2 separate regions of the Homo sapiens genome follow, and region 2 is linked to region 1. The links are contacts of gene promoters, found by promoter capture Hi-C in human tissues and cell types (Jung and others, 2019). All regions are on one chromosome and are shown on one strand. Each heading gives the region's core, a stretch centred on a gene start or on the middle of the fragment in contact. The rest is flanking DNA. Distances are from core to core; before and after follow the strand shown.

Region 1 (6,566 bases), core at 1,286-3,785:
CAGAGTTCCCCTTCCCCAAGGTGAGTCATAGAAATTCTTCCCCCAAAGCCACCGATAGAACCTAAAACTATGACTCAAACTTTCCTCCACCCTTCTGCACAGGAGCTGGCCGTAAAGAAATTCTCTGACCAACTTTGTCTGAGAGTAGGTCCTAAGACCCTCATTCCAGAGGGGTCGTGCCCCATACCTAGAAAGAAGAAATGCTGTGCAGAGAGGCCAAGAAGAATCTGAACAGACAGGCCCTGCTGGGTCCCCATCCCATCACCTCGGTCCATTACAGTTAATCAGAACTTTCTGTCCAATCGCATTTCTATACCACTGTCCATTCCTCATTGAGTCTAAGCATAAAAATGGACAGTTCTTCCTGAGCCTTTCGGTATTCATTTCTGAAGACTCACATGTCACATTAAACTTTGATGAAATAAAATTGTTATGCTTTCCTTTTGTTAGTCTGCCTTTTGTTACAAGAGTGTCAGCCATGACCCACATGACTGGTGAGGAAAAGTATCACACTTTTTCTCCCCTACACATGTATATCACTGTACACAATTTTTTTTTTTGAGACAGAGTCACTCTCATCATCCAGGCCTGAATGCAGTGGCACGATCACAGCTCACTGCAGTCCTGACTTCCCTGGCTCAATTCATACTCCCACCTCAGCCTCGCAAGTAGCTAGGACTACAGACACATGCCACCACGCCCAGCTAATTTTTGTATTTTCAGTAGAGATGGGGTTTCACCATGTTGCCTAGGCTTGTCTTGAATGCCTGGGCTCAAGTGATCCACCTGCCTTGGCCCCCCAGTACTGGGATTATAGGCCTGAGCCTCTGCACACAGCCAAAATAGAATTTTTAAAGGAAGAGGAGAAATATGAAAAGGATTTCTATTTTTTTTCTTTTTGTATTCCAGTGGATTATCTCGCCCCCCCGCGAGCTGTGTGTACACCCAGGATGGGCCTCAGTTCCCTGACTATGGGTGAGTCCACGCTCTGCCTGGAACAGGAGCTTGGCTGGTCTTTTCCTAAGGACTTCCTTGGATACAGACCGGACAGTCCCTCTCCATCATTCTCCACTCTGTTTCCGGCTAGGCCCACCAATCTTCTTGCGTAGCGCCCAATACTGTTTGTCTGGGTGGAAATCCATCTCCGCCCAGCCTTTCATGGAGATAGAGGAAAACTGATCGGCATTCTTCCTCCATAAACTTGACAGCACTTGACTCCGTTTGGAAGATTGTGGAAGCGAGTCTTTGCTGTGTTTATGAGACCCCCGGGGTTGTTGCGAAGATCAAGTGATAAAGAGGATGAAGAATTTTGCGATACACAAAGGGCTCCAGAAATGTCGAGTGATATTATTAGCAGTGATTTGCATTCATGAAGGGAAGAATGGACGGAAATTAAATGGAACACTTTGGACACGTGTAAGGAAACTGCTGTCGGTCTAGCTCACTCCCCAGGCCGGGGAGCCTTCCTGGGAGGACCCATTTTCCTACACAGCTGCCCACAGCCCCTCTCCATTTCCACCTCCCTCTAGGTAGGAAGGGAACTCAGGTTGGGCAAAGGCGGTGAATTCGCATCTCCAGGAAGCGGCGGGGCCGGAAGGCAGCCAGCAGGGGGCGGCATTGCGCAGGACAGGAGAAGGTAGCGGCCAAGTTCCTCATGAAATCCACGTGCGTGAGGCTGGGAAGGTCCTCTAAGATGTTTAAATAACCCTTAAAGCGGAATCAAGATTTGTTTTTTTCTGCAGTTAGAGAGTTTGCTCCCTCCCAGCCGGCTCGCTGAGCGCTGTGGAACCCTTCGGCTGGGCTCCCCTGAAATCGGGCGCTTGTTCTGGGACAGGCGCAGAAGGGACCCCGGGAATCACGCTTGCGCTCGGGATGTGCAGGGTTCCAAGGGTGACACAGGGGAACTTTTCTATGCAAGGGCTAGCTGCTAGTGCAGGTCTCAGACTTACCTTCCGTTCATTTCAAGACAAATTGAGCTCAAATTACCCTTTTCTTTTTCGTTAAATGAATGGGGAATGAATGAATGAGATTTTCTGTTTTGAAGATGAGGCTCATCTCCCCTCCCCTCGCCTCCCCTGCCCTCCCCTACCCCTGCCCTCCCCTACCCCTGCCCTCCCCTCCCCTCCCTTCCCTTCCCCTGATCCCAAAGTTGATTCCCGGTTGCAGGAACACAGCGTAGAAAATTCGATGCATTCTCTCAGGAAGGAGCCTGGAGTGGGACTCAGGGGACCTGGGTGCTGGTCTCAGCCCCACGCCAGTCGTGGACAGGCTTCTGTTCCTTGGGCTTCTCGTCTGTAGAATGACGGTTGGAGAGAGGATTTTTCTCCTTCTCTTCTACAAGGATGTGCTGTGACAGCCAGGGAAGGGCTGGCCATGCACAGTGCTTTCATGCATGGGCTCTGACTGTCACCAAAGAGCCAGACCCGGCCACAGGCCATCCTGGAAGAGGGGAGAGCCCTTTAATGTGGGCAGAGGGAATGTTGGCCCGCCAGAGTTCCCTCTCAGGTGTGGTGGGAGTGGCAGTTGAATGGGGCAGTTGGAGAGGAGGACTTCAGGCGGGTGGGACAAGAGAAACTGAATCTGAGGTCCTTGGGGAGAAGCAGGCCCTGGAGTCCTGGGCAGCAGATGCCAGGCTCTGAGCCCCATGACTGCTGACCCTCCTCCCCTCCCTCTCATCCTCAGCCCAGGTAAAGCTTCATTTCCAGCCCAGGTAAAGCTTCTCCCTGTAACAATTAGTGGCCACCATTTAGTCCCAAGGGCCTTTGTTTCTCATCCTCAGGACAGGCTGTGTGTGTGTGTGGTGGGGGGTTTGGGGGAGGTGACACCACTGAATGGGGCTGCCCAAGTGGGAGGCAGCAGGGACGAGGCTCCCAGAAGAAAGGCAGCCCCTCTTCCACTTTTGGAGCCCCCGCTATCATAAAAGAAAAGGCAGAAATGCCAAGACGCGATTTCAAAATCTCTGAAATACAAAAGCCTACATTGAATATTTTAAGTCTTTTCCCACACATGCACAAACACAAACACATATACAGGGTAGTGTTCACAATTTAATTATGGGATTTATACCTCCCCCCCAAAAAAAAAGACCTGGAAAGCTTTACTGCAGTTCTCATATGAGGTTTTCATCTTTCTTTCTTTTTTTTTTTTTTTTAACTTTTAAATATATTATTTTCCTGGGAGGGTAGATTTGAATTGCTCTGAATCCAGGCTCTGCATCCTTCTTTGATCGTGTCGGAATGTGTCTGTAACTGGATGGATGACCTCTTTTGGAGATGCCATCACTGGCCACTGTTTTAGGCCTTCTGGGAGATGAGGGTACTTGAGCAAAAGCACCCCCACTTCCCTTCCCACACCCCCAGCTTGGTGCTGTCCCCTGCATGCACTTCCCTCTGCCACCTCTCTGCCTCTCCCTGCCTCCCAACCCCAGTCCCTCATCACTCACAGGGCTTTCTGATCTGGCTGCCACAGGTGCCTGGGACCTGGGGACAGACAGGAGAGGTGCGGTGCAGGCAGGGCCTGGGAGAGCTCCCCAGTGTCTCCTCTGTGCTGGAGGCCAGTCAGGCCCTGGAGGAAGGGGCTGTGGGAGTTGGGGGAGACCATCAGATATTGATAACTTTGGTGGCTTTAAATTAACAATGGATTTATTAAGAAAGAAGTAGGGCTGTAGTCTCATACCTGGGAAAAATTTTATGACTAAAGGTGTGCCTGCTTTTGGTTGATGGAGGAACTCCCATCATGAGCACCAAGGAAGACCCAGAGTCCAGTTCTCAAACATAAAGTTGTTAATTTTCTGGGCTAGACAGGGGCAGAAATGAAATATAACAGAGCAAAGTGGGCAGGTGTGGAAAATGGTTCTTCTTGAGATGACTTCTAGACATCTTTTGTTCTCTCTTGGGGCAGAGACAAGGATAGAGAAAAAGGCCTCAGGAAACACTATAAGGAAGACAGCAGTGCCAATGCAATAATAAATGTTACATGACCCCAAATCTCAGAGTCACAGAGACAGTAAGGAGTGGTGGGGATTGTGGCAAACTAAAGCATGTATACCCTGCCCAGGAGGGGCTGCCGTGCTCAACGTAAGTGGATTGTCACCACATGAACATACAGAGCTCTTGATATTTGACGAAAGCCAGAAGCCAGTCTTATTTTTTTTTTAATGTGGTATCTCCTCATTTTTAAATGTTTTCCACAAATTGGAAAAAAATGTTTAAACTATGCAGGCCATATAAAATGGAACTGCAAGTTGTACATGGTCTTTGTGTCCTGTGCTCTAAACAGAGGCCTTCCTGCTTCTGCCTGTCCAGTCTGTTGAGGTTAGGTTAGGAACCCCCTGCCTGCTAGCAGAGGGGTGCACCAGTGACTTTTTGGCATCTCCTGCCAACCCTCAGATGCTCTGCATGGAAAACACAATGCCAAGAACAGAGCCATGATGGCTGCAGGGACCCTGGCCCGGTTGGCACTGCCTCCTCCCAGCTCTCATCAGCTGTGTACCCCTCAGACCCCATCCTGTGATTGCCAGCAAACAGATTTCTCACCCCAGGCAGCTCCTCACTCCTGGCAGAGGATGGCGTGACAGACGGGGATAGAGACGTTAGCCAAAGCAGGCTTCCTGATTTTAAAAAAAGTCTCATTTTTCCCCCCAGGGCTGCCAAATTTAGCAAAGTGCCATTCCAGCTGCAATGCTTCCAAGCCGCCTCAGATCATCAAAACTTCACATGCCCTGGGGAGCACTCAAGGAAATTACCTTCTAGCACCAATTTCCTATGCGCGCTGATTACTCAAACCTGGCCAGGGAGGCCTGGCCTCCAGTGTTTGGCATCTGGGACTCAGGAGCCCTTAAGACAAGCTGATGACATCTTGCTGCCAGGGTCCCTTACCATTAGAAAAGGGAACCAAAAAATAGAAGTTATAGGTAAGGGTTCTCCACTGACAATGAGTTCCACCTTCTCAAAGGGGCTGGGAAAGATTAGCCTGGATGAGAGAGGACTAGCCACTGGGTGGCTGGGAGTGAGTTGTCGGAAATGACAATGGTCCTCAAATATCACAGGGCACATGAAGAGGACATCAGTGGAGGATGCATGGCTCCTGAGAGCTGAGAAGTGTGCAGAAAAATTGCATTTAGTTCCACAGAAGGAAAAAAAAATCATCCCCTTTAGGGCTATTTCTTTAGAAAATGCTTAACTTTTTATTTTGTAATGATTTCAAACTTACAGAAAAGTAACAGAAATAATGCTAAGAGATCCCAACTACCCTTCACTGAGATTTGCAGTGACATTTTTGCCACATTTACTTTAGCATTAATATCAAAATCAGGAAATTTATCTTTGATAAAATATTATTGCAGAATCTATAGTCCATATTTAGATTTCTCCAATGTTCCAATACTGTTCTTTTACACATTTCATTTACTTATTTTTATTTTTTTAGAGCAGGAGTGAAAATTTATTAAAAAGTTTTAGAGCAGGGATGAAAGAAAGTAAAGTACACTTGGAAGAGGGTCAGGCGGGTGACTTGAGAGTCAAGTGCACAGTTTGACCTTTGACTTGGGCCAATAATGTTCTTTATAGCAAATTAATTTTCTTCTGGTCAAGCATCCAATCCAGGCTTGTGTGTTGCTTTTAGCTGTCACATCTCTTCTGTATCCTTTAATCTGGGATGTTTCCTCACTTTTCTTTGTCTTTCGTGCAATTGACGTTTTTGAAGAGCACAGGCCACTTGTTCTGTAGAAAGCTCCTTTGGGTTCATCTGGTATTTTCTCAAGACTAGACGCAGGGTATGCATTTCCTGCAGGAATACTGCATGCGGGCCGTCTTGAGAAGAAGTGACTGGGGTCTGTCACCAAAGCATGTTGAGGCCCGATCTGGTGGGCCAGAGGGAAATTCTCCCTGAGAGGCTGGTTTGCCATGTCTTGGATTCTATGATTCTCCCCCAAATAATTTCAGCTGGGTTTCAGAACTTGCCGTGAGCTCTTTCTTCTTCATCAGCTAACCTGCTTTCCTACCTCTGCTTTGCTCAGGTTACCAAGGGCAGGGCAGTGGCCCAGCGGCCACTGGGAGGTCGTAGGTTGTTGATCATGGACCACAGCTTGACTGTCCGCTGTGCCCGGCAGTTGCAGAGCGGGTGGACATGTGGTAGAAAGACCGTGCCCAAAGGCCGTACTTGGGTTCAGGCTTCTTTTCTTGCTTCCGATCCAGACCAGGGCTGGGTTCTGTTCATGCAGGGAGCCAAGGACCTATGCAAGAATGAGAGGCCAATTTTTAAACTTTTCAGCCCCAGCATCTCTGCAGTGGATAGCCTCCCTCTGTCTCCTGAAGTAAATGCAGAGAGGTCAGCAGGAGGCTGTTCTGAGTGGAGGGTGCCTTGGGTACAGAAAATTCTGAAGGGCTTTCTGGTAAACAAACAAATGGAAGTCTTGTGGAAAAGGATCCAAGGAAGGTTTTGAATCTGAAGTCTTTCACGGTCATGCCAAGCCTTGTCTCGACTCTTACCTAAGTCTGGTGCATAGAGCCCCATGACACGGGCACACCACACAAACCAAGGCTCAGGCAAAAATCTCTGTTTGGGCT
Region 2 (6,566 bases), core at 1,465-3,964, 1.1 Mb after region 1:
TCTTGGGGTTGCTCTTCTCAAGGAGTATCTTTGTGGTGGTCTCTGTATTTCCTGAATTTGAATGTTGGCCTGTCTTGCTAGGTTGGGGAAGTTCTCTTGGATAATATCCTGAAGAGTGTTTTCCACCTTGGTTCCATTCTCCCTGTCACTTTCAGGTACACCAGTCAAACGTAGGTTTGGTCTTTTCACGTAGTCCCATATTTCTTAGAGACTTTGTTCGTTCCTTTTAATTCTTTTTTCTCTAATTTTGTCTTCCCGCTTTATTTCATTAAACTGATCTTCAATCTCTGATATCCTTTCTTCCACTTGATCCATTCAGCTGTTGATACTTACATATGCTTCACGAAGTTCTCATGCTGTGTTTTTCAGCTCCATCAGGTCATTTATGTTCTTCTCTAAACTGGTTGTTCTAGTTAGCAATTCCTCTAACCTTTTTTCAAGGTTCTTAGCTTCCTTGCATTGGGTTAGAACATGCTCCTTTAGCTCGGAGAAGTTTGTTATTACCCACATTCTGAAGCCTACTTCTGTCAATTCATCAAATTCATTCTCCATCCAGTTTTGTTCCCTTGCTGGCAAGGGGTTGTGATCCTTTGGAGGAGAAGAGGAGTTCTGGTTTTTGGAATTTTCAGGCTTTTTGCAGTGTTTTTTCCTTATCTTCATGGATTTATCTACCTTTGGTCTTTGATGTTGGTGACCTTTGGATGTGGTTTATGTGTGGACGCCCATTTTATTGATGTTGATGCTATTCCTTTCTGTTTGTTAGTTTTCCTTCTAACAGTCAGGCCCCTCTGCGGCAGATCTGCTGGAGTTTGCTGGAGGTCCACTCCAGACCCTGTTTGCCTGTGTATCACTAGTGGAGGCTACAGAATAGCAAAGATTGCTACCTTTTCCTTTCTCTGGAAGCTTCGTCCCAGAAGGGCACCCACCAGATGCCAGCTGGAGCTCTCCTGTGTGAGGTGTCTGTCGACCCCTTCTGTGAGGTATCTCCCAGTCAGGAGGCATGGGGATCAGGGACCCACTTGAGGAGGCAGTATGTCCCTTAGGAGAGCTCGAGTGCTGTGCTGGGAGGTCTGCTGCTCTCTTCAGAGCCGGCAGGCAGGAACGTTTAAGTCTGCTGAAGCTGCACCCACAGCGGCCCCTTCCCCCAGGTGCTCTGTCCCACGGAGATGGGAGTTTTATCTATAAGCCCCTGACTGGGACTGCTGCCTTTCTTTCAGAGATGCCCTGCCCAGAGAGGAGGAATCTAGAGAGGCAGTCTGGCTACAGCAGCTTTGCTGAGCTGCGGTGGGCTCTGCCCAGTTCAGACTTCCCTGTGGCTTTGTTTACACTGTGAGGGGAAAACCACCTACTCAAGCCTCAGTCATGGCAGATGCCCCTCCCCCTACCAAGCTCAAGCGTCCCAGGTCAACTTCAGACTGCTGTGCTGGCAGTGAGAATTTCTAGCCAGTGCATCTTCGTCTGAAGGGCCCCGTGGGGGTGGGATCTGCTGAACTACACCACTTGGCTCCCTGGTTTCAGCCCCCTTTCCAGGGGAATGAACAGTTCTGTCTCGCTGGCGTTCCAGGCACCACTAGGGTATGAAAAAAAACTTCTGCAGGTAGCTCGGTGTCTGCCCAAATGGCCGCCAGTTTTATGCTTGAAACCCAGGTCCCTGGTGGTGTAGGCACCCGAGGGAATCTCCTGGTCTGCGGGTTGTGAAGACCATGGGAAAAGTGTAGTATCTGGGCCAGAATGCGCCGTTCCCTCATGGCTTCCCTTGGCTAGGGGAGGGAGTTCCCCGACCCCTTGAGCTTCCCAAGTGAGGTGACCCTCCACCCTGCTCCTACTCGTCCTCCGTGGGCTGTACCCACTGTCTAACCAGTCCCAGTGAAATGAGCTGGGTACCTCAGTTAGAAATGCAGAAATCACCTGCCTTCTGCCTTGATCTCATGGGGAGCTGCAGACTGGAACTGTTCCTATTCGGCCATCTTGCCCAGGAATCAACTGATTGGTGTTAATTCTTTACATGTTTAGTAGAATTCACCAGTGAAGCCATGTGATCCAGAGCCTTTCTTTGTTGAGAAGTTCTGGATTCTTTTTTTAATCTCCTTGCTAGTTTTAGGCCTATTCAGATTTTCTTTGGCTTCATTATGCAGTTTTGATTGTGTGTTTCTAGGAATTCATCCATTTCCTCTAGGTTGTCAGTTTGTTGGCATACAGTTGTTCTTAGTATTCACTTATGATTCTTTTTATATACGTCAGATCTGTAGTAATGTCTCCAGTTGCATTTCTGATTTTAATAATTTGAGTCTTTTTGTTCTTAATAATTCTAGCCACAGGTTTGTCAGTCTTGTTGATCTGTCCAAAGAATCAAGTTTTGGGTTTTTGCTCTTTTTCTGTTTTCTATTTTATTTATTGTCACTCAAATCTTTATTATTTTGTTACTTCTGCTAGCTTTGGATTTAGTTTGTCTTCTTTCTCTAGTTCCTTAAGGTATAAAGTTAAACTATTGATCTAAGTTGTTTCTTCTTTTTTAATGTAGGCATTTACAGGTGTAAATTTCCCTTTTACTACTGCTTTTAGTACTCTGCATAAGTTTTGGCATGTTTTGGGTTTCATTTGTCTCAAGGTATCTTATAATTTCCCGTGGATTTCTTTTTTGAAATCACAGCTTTAAAAGTTGTGTAAGAGTGTGTAGTTTAATTTACACAGACTTGTGAATTTTTTCATTTTCCTTCAGTTGTTGATATCTAGTTTCATTCCATTTTGATTTGAAAATAAATTTTATATTTCAGTCATTTAAAATATATTAAGACTTGTTTTGTGGCTGAACATACGTAGTCTATTCTAGAGACTGTCTGATGTGTAATTGAGAAAAATTACATTTTTCTGTTATTGGGTGGAATTTTCTGTATATGTTAGGTCCATTTGGTCTATAGTGGTGTTCAGGTCCTTTATTTTCTTATTGATGTTCTGCCTGGTCATTCTATCCTTTATTGAAAGTGCAATGTTGAAGTCTCCAATTACTATTGTACAAGTGTCTACTTCTCCCATCAGTTCTATCAATGTTTGTTTCATATATTTTAGGGCTCCTTTGTTTTTAGTCCATATATGTTTATAATCGTTATATCTTCTGGGTGAATTGACCCTTTTATCAATATACCGTGTCCTTTTTTATCCAAGACTAGTCTTGCCACCCCCTAGCTGTCTTTTAGCAACTATTTGCATGGAATATCTTTGTCCATCCTTTTACTTTCAACTTTTTTATATCTTTAAAGTGAGTGTCCTACAGGCAGCATATAATTGGATCTTGTTTTTTCCCATCAATTCTGCAATCTCTTCTTTTGATTGGAGAGTTTATTTATGTTTAATTGCTGATGAGGAAGGTTCTGTCACTTTGCTACTTGTTTTCTGTGTGTCTATAGCTTTGTTGTCTCTCATTTCCTCCATTACTGCCTTCTTTTCTTTAATTGATTTTTTTTTGTAGTGACAAGTTTTGATTCCCTTCGCATTTCCTTTTGTGTATATTTTATAGATATGTTCTTATGGTTACTATGGAGATTGTGTTTTTATGAACTGCTTAAGTTTTTAAAAGTTATCTTCACTATTTGGTAAGCATGTGGGAAGTTTTTCTTATTAAAGGTTGTAGCTCATACACAGACAACCACCACAACTTAAAAGTGGAGAAATTTTGAAGACAGATTTTAGGATTCTTCTTTGGGTTCCTAGGCCAGGCACAGCGGCTCATACATGTAATTCCAGCTTTTGTGAGGCCGAGGCGGGTGGATCGCTTGAGCTCAGGAGTTTGAGACCAGCCTGCCTAGCCAACATGGTGAAACCCCATCTCTACTAACAATACAAAAATTAGCTGGGCGTGGTGGTATGCACCACTCAGGAGACTGAGATGGGAGGATCACTTGAACCCAGGAGGCAGAGGTTGGAGTGAGCTAAGATTGCACCACTGCACTCCAGCCTGGGTGACAGAGCAAGACCCCGTCTCAAAAAATAAATGGCCAGGCGCGGTGGCTCATGCCTGTAATCCCAGCACTTTGGGAGGCCAAGGCGGGCAGATCATGAGGTCAACAAGATTGAGACCATCCTGGCTAACACGGTGAAACCCTGTCTCTACTAAAGATACAAAAAATTAGCCGGGCATGGTGGCGGGCGCCTGTAGTCCCAGCTACTCGATAGGCTGGGGCAGGAGAATGGCGTGAACCCGGGAGGCGGAGCTTGCAGTGAGCCAACATTGCACCACTGCACTCCAGCCTGGGTGACAGAGTAAGACTCCGTCTCTAAATAAATAAATAAATAAATAAATAAGTAAATAAATAAAACAAACCTTCCTTTAGGTTCCTGAAAAATCAAGTGAATACATTCCCACCAGGAAAAACTGTTTCTGTTATATTTCTTTGCTTTTCTATCTCCTTAAACTCCTCAGCCAATTAGCTAAGGATTAAAAAAAAAAAAAAAAAATCCAAGTGATATATCAGTACTTCCTAATTTTTTTTTATTTTGCTTATCATAAGTGCAGATCATATTACCAGTAGCTTTGGCAAAATCTGCTTTCCAAAATACCATCATTTTTTTACTTGAATTTGAATGGCCCTTAACTTTAATCTACATTTGGGCAGGGCTGGTTAGCCTCTTCCAACTGTTTCCTCAGATTCATCTCCTGTATGAAGAATAATACCATTTTAAGACACATCTGAACTGCCCAGATATAGTTGAGTTTGTATGTTCACATCACATATATTTTAAAATTATAAGTGGTATATCTTATCTATTGTCATGAAAAGAAACAAATATTTTAGCCTTTATATCCTGACTGATGAGTATGGTGTAATGGTAAGCTGTATGATTTGTGCAAATACAGAGTTTGTAAATACAAAAGTGTGACAGTAAGATATCAGATATTTTTGACAAATTTGAAAATTAATAGTTTTTCTCAATCTTATAATTTCAAGGCATTGTATTATTCCATGGATTCTGTATTAAAATCATGACTGTTTATGACCATATACAGGCTTTCTTATAGCTGAACTCTTCTATCTAGAATTTTAAAGGTCTTCATGAGATGCCAAATGGTCAATTGGGTTATGAAGCCAATTTGGTCAACCAGCCTTCCTACCTGCTTTCCATGCATTTCTTTGGCATTTGTCATGTGAGGTACTGTGTTTGATGCTAGGAAGATACAAACATGCATGGAACAGTACCTGCCCTAAAGGGTTTTCCAGTCAGTTAGGTAAGGTGACCTAGGCAAATAGTGACAGTGTAGGATTGACCGTGACGAAGACCCTTTGAGACATAAAGGGTTCTCCTGTTAAATATCCAAGTTCCTTCAAACAGGCAGCATCAATTACGGAGGAGGTGGTCTTTGAGTGCAGGTCCTTTGGGTGTGTCCTTGAGAGTAGATATATTTTGAAGGTAGAAATGTTCATTGAGGCTGTTATTTTAGACAGAAGCAATAATGAGCAAAGCATTGAAGCAGAGCTAAGGTGGGCCACAAGAAGTGTGGTAGAGGGAGTGGCAGAGAAAGGAGGCAGGAAAGGTAGATTAAAACTGGATGAAGCCCTTTGAAAAAAATCAAAGGGAAAATGTAGACTCATCTTACAGGCATCAGGGAGTTGACACTATAAAGTAACATCTTTAGCGCTGTGCCTTAGCTGGGGCATGGATATGAGTTAAGAGTTTACTTCCATAGTCACAGCGGGAAGCCATGGAGGTCTGAACCTAAGCAGGGGCAGTGAGGACAAAGAAGAGTGGGGAAACGGAATCCACAGGATTCAATGACCCATTCAATGAAGGCTAAAAGAGTGAGTCAGTCACCTACAATTTTGAGTCTGACTGAAAGATGAAAACTGAACAGACAAGATGGGGAAAGTGTCATGTTTTGGACATGGTGAGCTCCTTGGGCAGCTGGAAATGTCGGGAGCTCACGGTGGCATTTGCTGAGAGTGAACTTTGCTGCTGCTGCTTCCTTCACCAGGGAGAGAACCTGAGCATGTTTCTAAAACCTTTTAAATTTGAGAACTTTTCAAACTTAAAAAACTATGCAGAGGCTGTTTCACTGTGTCAAATAACTACAAATCAGTGCTTTATACAAAGACGTAGCTAACAAGAAAGGCTTTTAGCCTTCTTATTTTTCCCTCGGTTTCTGTGCACCTGTGCTGTCCAGTCCAGTGTCCGCCAGCCACCTGCAGCCTCTGAGCACTTATAACATGGCCCGTCTAAACCGACGTGTGCTATCATTATAAAAACGCCTCCCAGATGTCAGAGGCTTGGTATGAAATAAAGAATGTAAAGTATCCCACTAACAGTATTTTATGCTATATGTTAAAATGAGAATGTTTTGGAAATTGTTTCGGGGCTTCCAACAGCATCCCCATGTTAGGTGCCTTGCTGGAAGGACTCTAGAACCCAGCATTTATTTGTACTGCACTCACAGCTGGGATGGAGGACAACAAAAGGGAGCCGCCAGGGAGAGGCTGCCAGGGTCTGGACCGATCCTTGCGCAGGTCCACATATCGCGTCCTTTCCATGAGGGGCATTCTGAGTATGCCTGTTTCTCCAACAACAGCAAATGGGCA

Evidence for each region. The method cuts DNA at HindIII sites, captures the fragments that hold promoters and counts their contacts. A contact is called where the count stands out against the background at its distance.
Region 2: a fragment that was not itself captured here is called in contact with the fragment with the promoter of ABCC12 in region 1 in 2 of the 25 tissues and cell types used here (dorsolateral prefrontal cortex and mesenchymal stem cells).

The regions. Positions count from the first base shown.
Region 1 is chr16:48,151,962-48,158,527 of GRCh38, reverse strand. It overlaps ABCC12 (ATP binding cassette subfamily C member 12), which reads left to right and starts at 2,535. Exons shown (of 31, transcript NM_001393797.1): 1 at 2,535-2,687; 2 at 4,644-4,912. RefSeq lists an enhancer at 1-551. The HindIII fragment of the contact is 12,201 bases long and covers 1-2,906 here.
Region 2 is chr16:47,092,150-47,098,715 of GRCh38, reverse strand. The region is part of intron 7 of NETO2 (neuropilin and tolloid like 2); the gene reads left to right. Among named protein-coding and RNA genes, the nearest start is that of NETO2, 49 kb to the left of the region's middle. The HindIII fragment of the contact is 5,022 bases long and covers 204-5,225 here.